Regions from separate parts of the Homo sapiens genome. Here all the other regions are linked to region 2. Evidence: promoter capture Hi-C in human tissues and cell types (Jung and others, 2019). All regions are on one chromosome and are shown on one strand. Each heading gives the region's core, a stretch centred on a gene start or on the middle of the fragment in contact. The rest is flanking DNA. Distances are from core to core; before and after follow the strand shown.

What was found. Contacts are between HindIII fragments. The study calls those that stand out against the background at their distance.
Region 1: a contact is called between a fragment that was not itself captured here and the fragment with the promoter of TXNL4B in region 2, in 1 of the 25 tissues and cell types used here (lymphoblastoid cells).
Region 3: a fragment that was not itself captured here is called in contact with the fragment with the promoter of TXNL4B in region 2 in 1 of the 25 tissues and cell types used here (lymphoblastoid cells).

Annotation. Positions count from the first base shown.
Region 1 is chr16:73,862,213-73,866,046 of GRCh38, forward strand. It overlaps a transcript of ZFHX3 not described here. Among named protein-coding and RNA genes, the nearest start is that of PSMD7-DT, 350 kb to the right of the region's middle. The HindIII fragment of the contact is 5,304 bases long and covers 1-3,834 here.
Region 2 is chr16:72,092,339-72,096,138 of GRCh38, forward strand. It overlaps TXNL4B (thioredoxin like 4B), which reads right to left and starts at 1,282. Exons shown (of 4, transcript NM_017853.3): 1 at 1,029-1,282. It overlaps DHX38 (DEAH-box helicase 38), which reads left to right and starts at 1,509. Exons shown (of 27, transcript NM_014003.4): 1 at 1,509-1,713. RefSeq lists enhancers at 1,055-1,384, 1,395-1,444, 1,505-1,804. The HindIII fragment of the contact is 10,781 bases long and covers 650-3,800 here.
Region 3 is chr16:70,737,743-70,741,474 of GRCh38, forward strand. The region is part of intron 13 of VAC14 (VAC14 component of PIKFYVE complex); the gene reads right to left. Among named protein-coding and RNA genes, the nearest start is that of VAC14-AS1, 15 kb to the right of the region's middle. RefSeq lists enhancers at 79-238, 211-741, 643-812, 2,565-3,372. The HindIII fragment of the contact is 3,664 bases long and covers 63-3,726 here.

The sequences.
Region 1 (3,834 bases), core at 911-3,410, 1.8 Mb after region 2:
GGGGTATGTTTCTAGGTTCCGTCCTGGAAGCCCAACTTGGGCTTCTCACTGATTATAGGAGCTACCATATCCTTTAATAAGTCCCCTTTGGTTTCAACTACCAAAAGTGAATTCTGTTTTTGGTAACTAAGAACCCCATCAACTACATATTGGAAAGTTCTTGGTTACATGCTTGACACATAGTAAAAATCTATGTATGTTAACTTCTTCTCTGTCACCTCCAATGCTTGTAATTCCATCCTAATTAGCCAGACCAAAGAAGTATAGAAAGATGTGACGAGGACGGTTGCTGTGACTCACGTCTATAATCCCAACATTTTGAGAGGCTGAGGCAGGAGGATCCCTTGAGCCCAGGAGTTCAAGACCACACTAGGCAACACAGTAAGACCCCATCTCCACAAAAAAATTTTAAAAGTAGCCAGGTGTGGTGGCACATGCCTGTTTGTCTCAGCTATTTGGGAGGCTGAGGTGGGAGGATCACTTGAGCCCAGGAGGAAGAGGCTGTAGAGAGCTGTGATCACGCCACTGCACTCCAGCCCAGGTGACAGAGTGAGACCCTGTACAATCAATCAATCAATCAATGTAAAGAAAGTTACCTATAACAAAATCTCAACCCGTTAGCCTGACGTGATACCTACACATCATACAACTTTAGAGTAAGTTATCTCCAGAAGATTCGTGGTTCATACAACTGTAACAGATTAATTAGTAGAAGCATGGCCAGGAGTGGTGGCTCACACCTGTAATCCCAGCACTTTGGGAGGCTGAGGTGCATGGATCAGAAGGTCAGGAGACCAGCCTGGCCAACATACTGAAACCCCTTCTCTACTAAAAATACAACAAATTAGCTGGGCGTGGTGGCAGGCGCCTGTAATCCCAGACACTCAGGAGGCTGAAGCAGGAGAATGGCTTGAACCCGGGAGGCGGAGGTTGCAGTGAGCGGAGATCGTGCCAATGCACTCCAGCCTGGGCGACAGAGCGAGACTCCGTCTCAAAATAAACAAATAAATAAATAAATAAATAAATTAGTAGAAGCAGTCCCTAGAGGAATGGGGTATTGAAAGTGAAGCTTTAATAGGTAGGCAATGGGCATAAAGAGTAGGATCATGAACAATGGCCCCAGAAGGTGGACCCAGATGGAGGGTGATCCAGAAGGGATCAGGACTGAAGAGTGTGAACAGCAGGACGCCAAAAGGAAACACCCTTCCTTTTGCCTAAGACTGTGAGATGGCTTATATAAACCAAAGCCACCCTTGTGTCCAAAGGGAGATAGTCTTCACACAGAGCAGAATACATAGAAGGGCAGTCTTCAGTCTCAGAAAAAAATCCGAAAGGCAATAAAAGACATACGGTGATGGTGACCATCTGCTTAAGTTCTGCTGATCATCTTCTGCATTCTCAAGTTATTTTACATGGCCTTCATTCCAACATAGATCAGTTTCTATATCATACGATGGTCATGTGTGCATATACCTTAGAGTTCCACTATACCCTAATAATGCATGGAATTTTTATGCCTTCTTTATGTCTTGCAAAGCATCTAGCGAAGTGTATTGTATATCATATTCAGGAAGAGCTCAATAGATGTTCTGTGAAAGAATAAGTGCCGAAATGAAACATGTTCTAATCCATCTTTTCACAGTCATAATTTTTTACTAGTTACTGAATTCTGCTTAATATGCATATAGTCAAATTTTTCAGATAGAAAAATGATCACGCTCTTTTCTCCAAGCAAGACAAGTACCCATCACTCCCACCTCTCCTCAAAACTTACGAATAGTAATTCCAGCTTCAAGTCACAAAGCCAGGGCTTTTTAAGTTATCTCACCTTGTGCATTTGCCTTATCTAAGCTTGCCAAAAAATGTCCTTCTTTGGTGTGTGTTATCTACCTGCCTAATAGATTATTGGCATGTTTACAATCCATTGCCAGAACTTGCAGTTCTGACTTCATGAATTTACACATAACTTATCTCAGCAAACACAGCACAAGGGTCTTCTTTCAGCTTCCAAGTCTGATTTCTATAGCCTCCTCCAGAATGGCTTCCCTATTAACGTAGTCAACGTTAATATACTTGCCCTCAGAGCAATCCTTCATTCACTGAAGGAACATTCATTAACTACGCTGTGACAAGCACTATGCTAAATGCCAAAGATACCGTGATAAACACAGAGGTTAGAGTGGAACAAACATTCACAAAATACTTGGGGAAAATAAAATATGTAGGCTGGGTCTAGTGGCTTATGCCTGTAATCCCAGCACTTCGGGAGGCTGAGGGAGGAGGATCACTTGAGGCCAGGAGCTCGAGACCAGCCTGGACAACATGGTGAAACCCTGTCTCTACTGGAAATACAAAAATTAGCTGGGCATCGTGGCTGGCGCCTGTAGTCCCAGCTACTTGGGAGGTTGAGGCATGAAAATTGCTTGAACCCAGGAGGGTGGAGGTTGCAGTGAGCCAAGATCGCCCCACTGCACTCCCACCCAGACAACAGAGCAAGACTCTGTCTCAATCAATCAATCAATCAATAATAAAGAAAATAAAATAGGTGGACTTGACATAGCCTGGCAGGGGAGCCATTAGGCATCCCAATACCCAATAAAGTAATATTTGAATTGGTGTCATAAACTGGAAATGGCCACATACTCATTGCAGCTCCTGTCAGTAAGAGGAGACAACAATTCCCTTACCCCTTCAATATGGGCTGGCCTCACAGCTTGTTTTGACCAATACAATCTGACACAGGTAACCTGATGTGAGTTCTGAGCCTTGTTCTTAAGGGACTTTGCAGCTTCTTCTCTACTGCTGTTGGAACATCTCTGACATCATGTCAACAAGCCCAGGCTAGCTTCTTTATGCACAAGAGATGACATGAAAGACAGACCTGGGCATCACAGCTGTCACAGCTGAGGTCCCAGAAAAATGAGTCATCACAGTCAATACCAGAAGTGAGCATCTTAGATGAACCCCACCAAAATTGTTGACCCACAGATTTGTGAGCAACTTTATGATTGTTGTTTGGGGAGGGTTTCTTATGCAGCAAATGCTAACTGATGCAATTGGGATCTGAAAATAAGTTAAAAAAATGAAAGGCCTGGAATCTATGCAAATAGGCCATGCAGAGATGTTAAGGCCCCCAAGACAGTAACATCAGAGAAACTGGAAGACATGTATGGGAAGGGTTTGGGGCCGGTGTGGGGTGGGCATGAGGCACCTCCCTGAAGCCTGCACGCCATGTGTTCATTGGGGAAGCTCTTCATACCCCAGTTTCCTGGAACTGAGATCCCCTAACCTCCCAACTCTCTTATATTCTAGATAGTTTCTTGGCTTTGTTCACAATTACACAATTGCACCTTGTTTATTTTCTTCCTCCCACTCACTCCCAGTTCTGGGCCATTGGCACCATGTTCCAGGTCCTGATTTGGGGTAAATCTGAACTGCCGTGACTCAGAGAAGCATCCAGTCATCTGTTAAAACATGTTACTGCCAGCCAGGCACAGTGGCTCACACCTGTAATCCCAGCACTTTGAGAGGCCCAGGCAGGCAGATCACAAGGTCAGGAGATCAAGACCATCCTGGCTAACATGGTAAAACCCCATCCCTACTAAAAATACAAAAAAAAAAAAATAGCCGGGTGTGGTGGCAGGCACCTGTAGTCCCAGCTACACTGGAGGCTGAGGCAGGAGAATGGTGTGAACCCGGGAGGCAGAGCTTGCAGTGACCCAAGATCGCACCACTGCACTCCAGCCTGGGGGACAGAGCAAGACTCCGTCTCAAACAAAACAAAACAAAACAAAATAAAACAAAACATGCTACTGCCCTAGGAATGGCTTTGAG
Region 2 (3,800 bases), core at 32-2,531:
GGAGGCGGAGGTTGCAGTGAGCTAGGATCGCTCCACTGCACTCCAGCCTGGGCAAGGCAACAAGAGCGAAGCTCCGTCTCCAAAAAAAAAAAAAGGAATTATTTAACTAAAATTCACATAGGAAATAAGATTGTTCCAGCTATAGGTCATACTTTAAACAGGGACATTGATGGCCCAAAGGGACGTCATCAGATGTGAGCAGCAGAACAAATTACCAATGAAAGGGAAGGTCAAAGAGAAGACGGATCTGTCCCACTAGAATTCAAACAAACAGCAGTTCCTCCGTGTTACTGATCGAAAGGAGAAAGTAAGGGGAGAACAAAGTTGTTAGTGGTGAGGCTAGGGGTGCAACTGGACAAACGTTGGAAGCAGGAGAGGAAAACTGAGACCACATCTAAGAAAATGTCCATAGTAAATGATACCCACAGAGAATTCCCAAAAGAAGACGTACAAATGGACAGTAAATAAACTAAAAAGTTAAGCTTTACCAGTAAGCAAAGAAAAGCAAATTAAAACATATGTTTACAAAGTCACTGAATTGGCAAAAATTAAACAAGATAGTGGTAGGGGCAGGCACAGGGAGTTCCTGCTGGAATGCAGACACAAAACCTTTCTGGAAAGAAAACTGACATACTCTTTGACCAATAACTCCACTGCTTTCCTCTCTCCCTCTCTTTTTCTGAGGCGGGGTTTCGCTATGTTGCCCAGGCTGGTCTCAACTCCCCAGGCTCAAGCAATCCTCCCGCCTCAGCCTCCCGAGTAGCTGGAACCTCAGGCGCGCGCCACAACTGCAGAAACACCAAAAAAAGAAAAAAAGCTTGAACTCACTTTTGTACAGAATCTTACTACAATGTATTCCAGAAAAACAACTGGAAATCAGTGGTCATCTCTGCGTGTGAACGCATGGGTGATTTTTATTTACAGCCGGGCGCGCATCTCCATTTTCCAAAATATCCGATATACATATTTAAAGTCACCTGTGTTGCGCTGCTCCTGGCCCACAAGCGCTAAGGGACCCCAGCACTTACCTTACTCGTCCACGCCGCCTCACTCCCTTTCACTTTGTGGCTGTCAGCAACCACTTCTCGGAAGAGCCCGGGCGCGGACAGCTCCTTTCATCAGCCCCAAGCCGGACAGGACCCTAAGACCAAGTCACCCAGGGGCTGTTGCCTAGCAACCCTCGTGGCCCCGCTAGCGGGAAGGAAACCGAACAGAAAACGCACAAGCGCAGAAAAGAAACTCCTGGCCGTCGGTCGGCCCCCGCTCAACAGCCCAATAAACGGAAGAGCTTCTAGTCACCGCCCACCTTGCTCGGCTCTGACCGGAAGCTAGGCGTCACCTCCGCCCGTATTAAAGATGGTCGACCTTTTTCCCCTCCTTTTCCTGCCCCCAGACTAGAGGCGGGATGTAGTCTCTTAGGCTAAGAGTGATTGGTCACAAGGAGACTCGGAAGTGTCTGATCAGAGCCCCAGAGGAGGCCTTGAGAGCCTGTTGGCGTACCGTTCCACACTTGGATCCAGGAATCGGGCGTGTTCCAGGCTGCTCTCTATGGTAGCTTTGGGCGGATAGAGGGGGCGCGCAAAGTATTAAGGGACAATAATGGCCGCTTTCAAGGTGTGGATTTTGGCTCCTTGAGCCTGTCTGAGCGAGGGGTGGCAGCGCCGGCGCCCCAGAATCCGGGACAGAAGGGTCCCAAGAGTCGCGCTTGGTGAGGTGAGAGTCCCTTCTTCCTTCCTGGCCTGCCCTTCTGTAATCATGGCGGCTCTAGGCGGCGGATATTGGTCCCCTGCTCAGGTCCGGGCCCCAGTTTGGGGAGTTCCTCTGTCGTCCCTGTCACCCACCTTGCCTTACTCACCTCAGGGATGCTGCATCCGTCCTGGCCGCCTTGGCCTTCCTCCTTGCTCTGGTCAAATCCTGCTGCCTGGAGCGGCCTCGCTGAGATCCAGGGATGCTGCCTGGAGTGGCCTTGGTCCCTCTCCCAGGCCTCCGCTTTAACCCACCCCAGACTGTCACCGAGCCCGAGTAGGACTCCTTGTGTCTTCCTCTGCTCTCTCACAGTGTCATTTATACCAGGCAATCTGGTGGGCGATCTCTTCTACTAGAATGTCAGCTCCAGGTGGGCGGGGATTTTTGTCTTGTTCTCTGTTGCTATCGCCGAGAACAGCAATTGGCTCAGGGACACCCTCAGTGAATAATTGTTGAATGAATGAATCCAGGTTCTTTCTTCCCTGGCTTTCTCGTACGCCTTGTAGTTTCTTTGCCATTAATCCTTCTCAAGAATCTTGCTCTTTAGCTCCTTATTTGTTCGTCTCAGCAGCTAATGAAGTTCTCTCTGGCTGTCTCCTTGTCCTGTGTTGCTGGAATCTTCCCTTGCTGTCTCCAGAAATGTTTGGGTTCCTGTCCTCCTTTAATAAGTTTAAATTAATTCATTTTTTAATTTATCAAACGCTTATTTTGCTAGACATTGAGCTACAGCAGTCAACAACACATCCAGTGTTCTCTCAACTGCGTAGAATGGCAGTCCAGGGTACCTTTCCTAGTTTAGACAACTATTGAGTAGAGCCTGTATATCTTTACCTTCTTGTGTGGATTTCCTCACATGCGCACAGATGTCACCAATATGCAGCTTTCTTTTTTTCTGTTCTGCCTGATGGCATTTTCAAAATGTAACTCTTGTTTCTGCATTAATATTATGTGTCCAGTCTGTTTGGCAATACTCTGTAGAGCTGTGCATTTAATTAGAGTTTGGTAAACAATTCTGGATTCTGGTGGCATCTCCTTTGCTTTGCTAACTTGTTGGAATGAGAGGAATTATCCAAGCATCCAGAACTGATATATGTTGATGAGTGGCAGATGTGTAGTGAGAGGTAAAGAGGAGCTTGTTCCAACTTGAGTGCCAGAAGTCTTGTAGCCACTTAAATACTTCTCAGTAACACCTTTTCCTAACCTGGTGTTTCTCATAAATATTTTTGGTGAACATGGATTGTTATTAAACTGATTTTGGCTGCTGTGAGTAAATTGTTTTCTGTAAAACGCAGCTAGGCCAAGAAAAGCCACTAAAGTATGGAGAACATGGACGGTAGCCTTCTGCCCCATCTCTGTGCTGCTGTACCTGTTGTTTAAAGAGAGGAAGAGGTAGAACTCATGTAAAAAAATGGGTGAGGGACCAACAGTATATAGGAGGATAGCAAATAATACAATGTAGCAGTTACATTTATGTTAACTGTTATGGTTACATAAAGAGCTACTCTTTATGGTTTCACATACACTTTTTGTTTGATTCTCACAATAGCTTCATGGATTAGATAAGGTAAAAATTTTTTCCATTTAATAGATATGAAATTATGGCTAAACAAAGATTAAGTTATTTGCTTACCATCATACAGGTAGAAAGTGTCAAGAGCCTGGTTTCTAATTGAGGTTTCTGATTCAAATTTAGTGGTGTTTTCCCTACATCCCTGTTACAGCTGCTGACATCAGGCTCTAGAAAGTGTCCCTTAGTGAGACTTTTTATTGCCTCTTGGATCTTTGTGGGGGCTGGGGAGGAATGTATGGGGTGTGTGTGTGTGTGTGTGTGTGTGTGTATCTATTTTGGTGTTTATTGGGGGTTGGAATAGGAGAATCTTTGGAGATAGGCAGTGACTTGATGGAAAGGTCTTGGAGAGAGGGAGCAAAAGTAGTCCTGGTCTTAAGGGGAGATGGGGAAGGTTAATCACCTACATATAACCATAACTGCATTTATTGTGGGATATAGTAGAGCTGAGCCTTCTCTAGTACCAAATGGTTTGCCTTCCTTCCAG
Region 3 (3,732 bases), core at 645-3,144, 1.4 Mb before region 2:
CCCGGGATGTTTTGGATTGAGTTTTGTGGTTATGACGTGAAGAAACCTCACATGTCAGGATAAAAATAACCCTGGCTTCAGTACATAACGCGAGTTACAGTTCAACAGAACCAGATGTGAAAACGTCAGCCACCCAGTTCAGGCCCAGCAGGGTCCCTGCTCCACTCCGGCCTCCCTCCCTGCTGGGGTTGGGGTCCATGTGCCCGGACAGCCCGTTGTGGGCTCAAGATCTGCTGCCTGGAGGATACAAGGGAAGGGCCAGAGGCCGCTCAGGGGAGGCAGCACCACCTTCTCCGAGGCCAGCTCCTCTTCTGTGAACCAGGCAGGGCTAAAGAGCATCAAGTCGTGCTTGGCACAGGAAGTGGTCCACAGAAGGGGTGGGTGATGGAGAGGCTGGTATGGAACCAAGAGGACAGGGTGGGGAAGGGGCAGTTTCCCCCAAGAATCAAGTGGCTGGGAGAAAGGGAGGCTGAGCAGGGTCTTGGGGGTGTAGAGTCTGCAGAACTGGAGGGGGTGCACAGCTACGTAGACAAAGGCCGCCGCAATGGCACCAACTCGGGAACCCACTCAAGGGGCAATCACTTTCTCATCTGTGGGCCGGCCTGGGTCGGCAGGACAGGAGCGCCGGAGGCATCAATCATAGCCAGGAGACTTTGCAGCTGCTCAGGTCAGAGCGAGAGAGAAGCCGATGGGATGCAGCAGGGCCCAGTGGGGACTTCCAGCTGACGCGGCAGTGGAGAGGTCATATAGCAGTCTGCCACCGGGAAAGAGCTATTGCTGCAGGGTGAGGGCTGGGGCCAAAGGCAGCGAGGAGAGGGTGTGGAGGAAGGCACCCCCTGCTGGTGGAGCAGGGGGGCTGGACTGCTGGGGCTTCCAACTGGACAAGGGAGGGCCTGGCAGCACGGGTATGAGAGGATGCCATTCTGGGCAGCAGTGCCGGGGGCCTCAGGCTCAGGTGATTGGTGCCCCTGCCTTCCATTATTTTAATAAACTTTCAAAAATAGGTACTGACCCTTACTGGGCACCTGGTGCCAGGGATTCCGGGGTAAGTAAACTTGGCCTGTGTGGCCTGCCATGACGCTATTCAAACTGAGCTGATGACACAAATCACCCAGCACTGGGCGACGCTGAGGAGCCTCCGCATGCACTTCCAGCTGGGGGTCTAAGAGGTCACAGCCAGGAGGGAACAGATGTGAACTTCACCACCCACCCAGGCAGCCTGAGATAAGCAAGTGTGTTGGAACAGAGGGGCAGGAGAAGCTGGGATCTCCAGGGAAGCCTCCCACAGGGGCCCTCTGCACCGGCCTGTAATAACTAGGACACAAGCAAAGGCCCCCTTCACATGCAGGGAGCATTTAGCCTAGCCCTTGCCATGTGGGAGCTCACAGAGCCCCCAGGCACCCCAGCACCTGGTTTATAGAGAGGGAAGAAGTAGCAGTGAGGTAGGACCCTTGTCCGAGGTCACGGGATGGATGGGCAAAGCAGGGCTGTGAATCTAGATCCCTCTGACCCCAGTGCTCGTGATCCCTACTGCTGCTTCCTGAGGCTGGGAGGGGTGAGTGGGAGGAAGGGGCTTCAAGAGAAACAGGTGCTTTCCTGGGGCTGGTGTGGCTGGAGGAAGTGGTGGCGGGCAGCAAATGACAAGAAATGAGGCATTGCCGTGGCCTGAGGCCAGGAAGGGGTCTCTGAAGTCACTGTGAAGAGAGGAGAGATGCCCCCATCACTGCCAGGTTGTGCCCATGGCCTGGCCCCTCTCCTCCTCCCCTCTGGCTGTGGAAGCTTCCAGTGCTGGCGCAGGTGGGATTCCTGAGTGGGGTGAGGAGTGTGGGCTCTCGGGCCAGGCTCCTGGCCCAAACAAGTGGGGAATGACACAGTGCTGGCCTCTCAGAGCTGCTGTGAGGACCCCAGGGGCTCACCCAAAAAGCCAGCACGCGTGAGTGCTCAGAGCAGGGCAGGGCCTAACGTGACCTCAGCCAGTGCTGGCAGCCATGATGATTGTTGCCGTGATTACTGGGGAAAATGGCTTTCTGGCTTTCTGCTAGAACTTGTTTCTGTCTGGTGACATGAAGATGCTGCTGACATTTGGCTACAATACACTGTCCTGGGCTACAAGGAATGAAACCAAATAAGAACAGGTCATTATCACCCATTTTTAGAGCCAGGGATAAAAACACCTTGGACCACTGAGCCCCGCAAGGTATACTGACATGAACAGTTTTTTTGTTTTATTTTTTTTGAGATGTAGTCTCGCTCTGTTGCCCAGGCTAGTGTGCAGTGGTGTGATCTCGGCTCTCTGCAACCTCCACCTGCTGGGTTCAAGCGATTCTCCTGCCTCAGCCTGCCGAGTAGCTGGGATTACAGGCACGCACCACTACGCCCAGCTAAATTTTGTATTTTCAGTAGAGACAGGGTTTCACCATGCTGGCCAGGCTGGTCTCAAACTCCTGACCTCAGGTGATCCATCTGCCTCAGCCTCCCAAAGTGCTGGGACTATAGGAGTGAGCCAACGTGGCTTACGACATGAACAGTTTTATCCCAGCAGCATTGGGCCCCGTGGCAGGCAAAGTCAGGGAAGACTGGGTTTTAGGGGCAAACGTCAGTCCTAGGGTGACCTTTGGCCTCAGACTGACACATTACTGTGCATGGCTAAGGATCCTAAAGGCTGATTGGGTCTCCCCAGGCCTGGCTGCACCCTCTCTGGCAGCATAGATGTCCAGGCCCCGGGAGGAAAGGCATGTCTCTGACAAAGGGCTCATCCCAGAGGCCTCCTCTGTCCTTTGAAGTTTTTTGCACAGGCTCAGGGTACGGCGGGCCCACAGGCCTGTCTGACATCCCTGTCCCCAGAGCCAGCAGGACCTCCGCAGACTCCCCTGAGTGGAGACAGGAAATACAAAAGGAGGAGACACAGGAGATCCCAGGGGTGGGAGACAGGAAAGTGTGGTGTCCCTCAGCCAGCTTCCCTCACAGCTGCCCGCCCAGGCTGCTCCCCATCCTGTTTGCCCCCAGGCCACTCTCTCCCCGATTCTGCGGCTCTGCACAGGTGAGGAATGAGGGAGGCAGGGTGGGAGAAGCCTCTGCCTTCACCGCTCTGCGAGGGAGGGAGAGATGTTTATGCAAGGCCAGGCGAGAGGAAAATCCCATGTGGGCGACTCTGCCTCGGGGGGCCCTGGGAACCATGGCTGTGGTGCATTAGGCCAACACGGCAGCTACCCAGGCATGTGATGGACTCGCTTCTCCACTGCTGCGTGTGATCCGCACCATGTGGTTCCCTACAGATGCCACCGACTTCACCTTTGCTAGGCTCCCTGCCTCCGAGGCTTTCCAGACAGTCCCTTTGTGCCTTCGGGGCAATCTCCCCTACAGGGACACAGCACTGCTGCCTCCAAGTTCTCCAAGTTCTCAGGGCTGCGCCCTGGAGAGCCAGAGGCAGGCAGAATCCAAACAGGAAGAGGGTATGGCTTCACAGCCTTGTCCATGTGCATGGCCAGATGGAAACAGACAGAAAGAGCCCCTTGCATGCCTGAGAAGCAGTCTGGGAAGGAGCAGCTTGCGGAGGGATGAATGTGCACTTCCTGCATGCCTTCTGACCTCAGCACCACCCCACACATCCTCAGTGCCTGGCACGTGCCCTCCCGGGGCAGCGGAGGTGGGGGGGCGGGGAAGCAGGGCACACTCTGGCTCCCCTGGCTGTTCTCTTACTGGTTTAAGCTGACCTTTTAAAATCATGGCCCC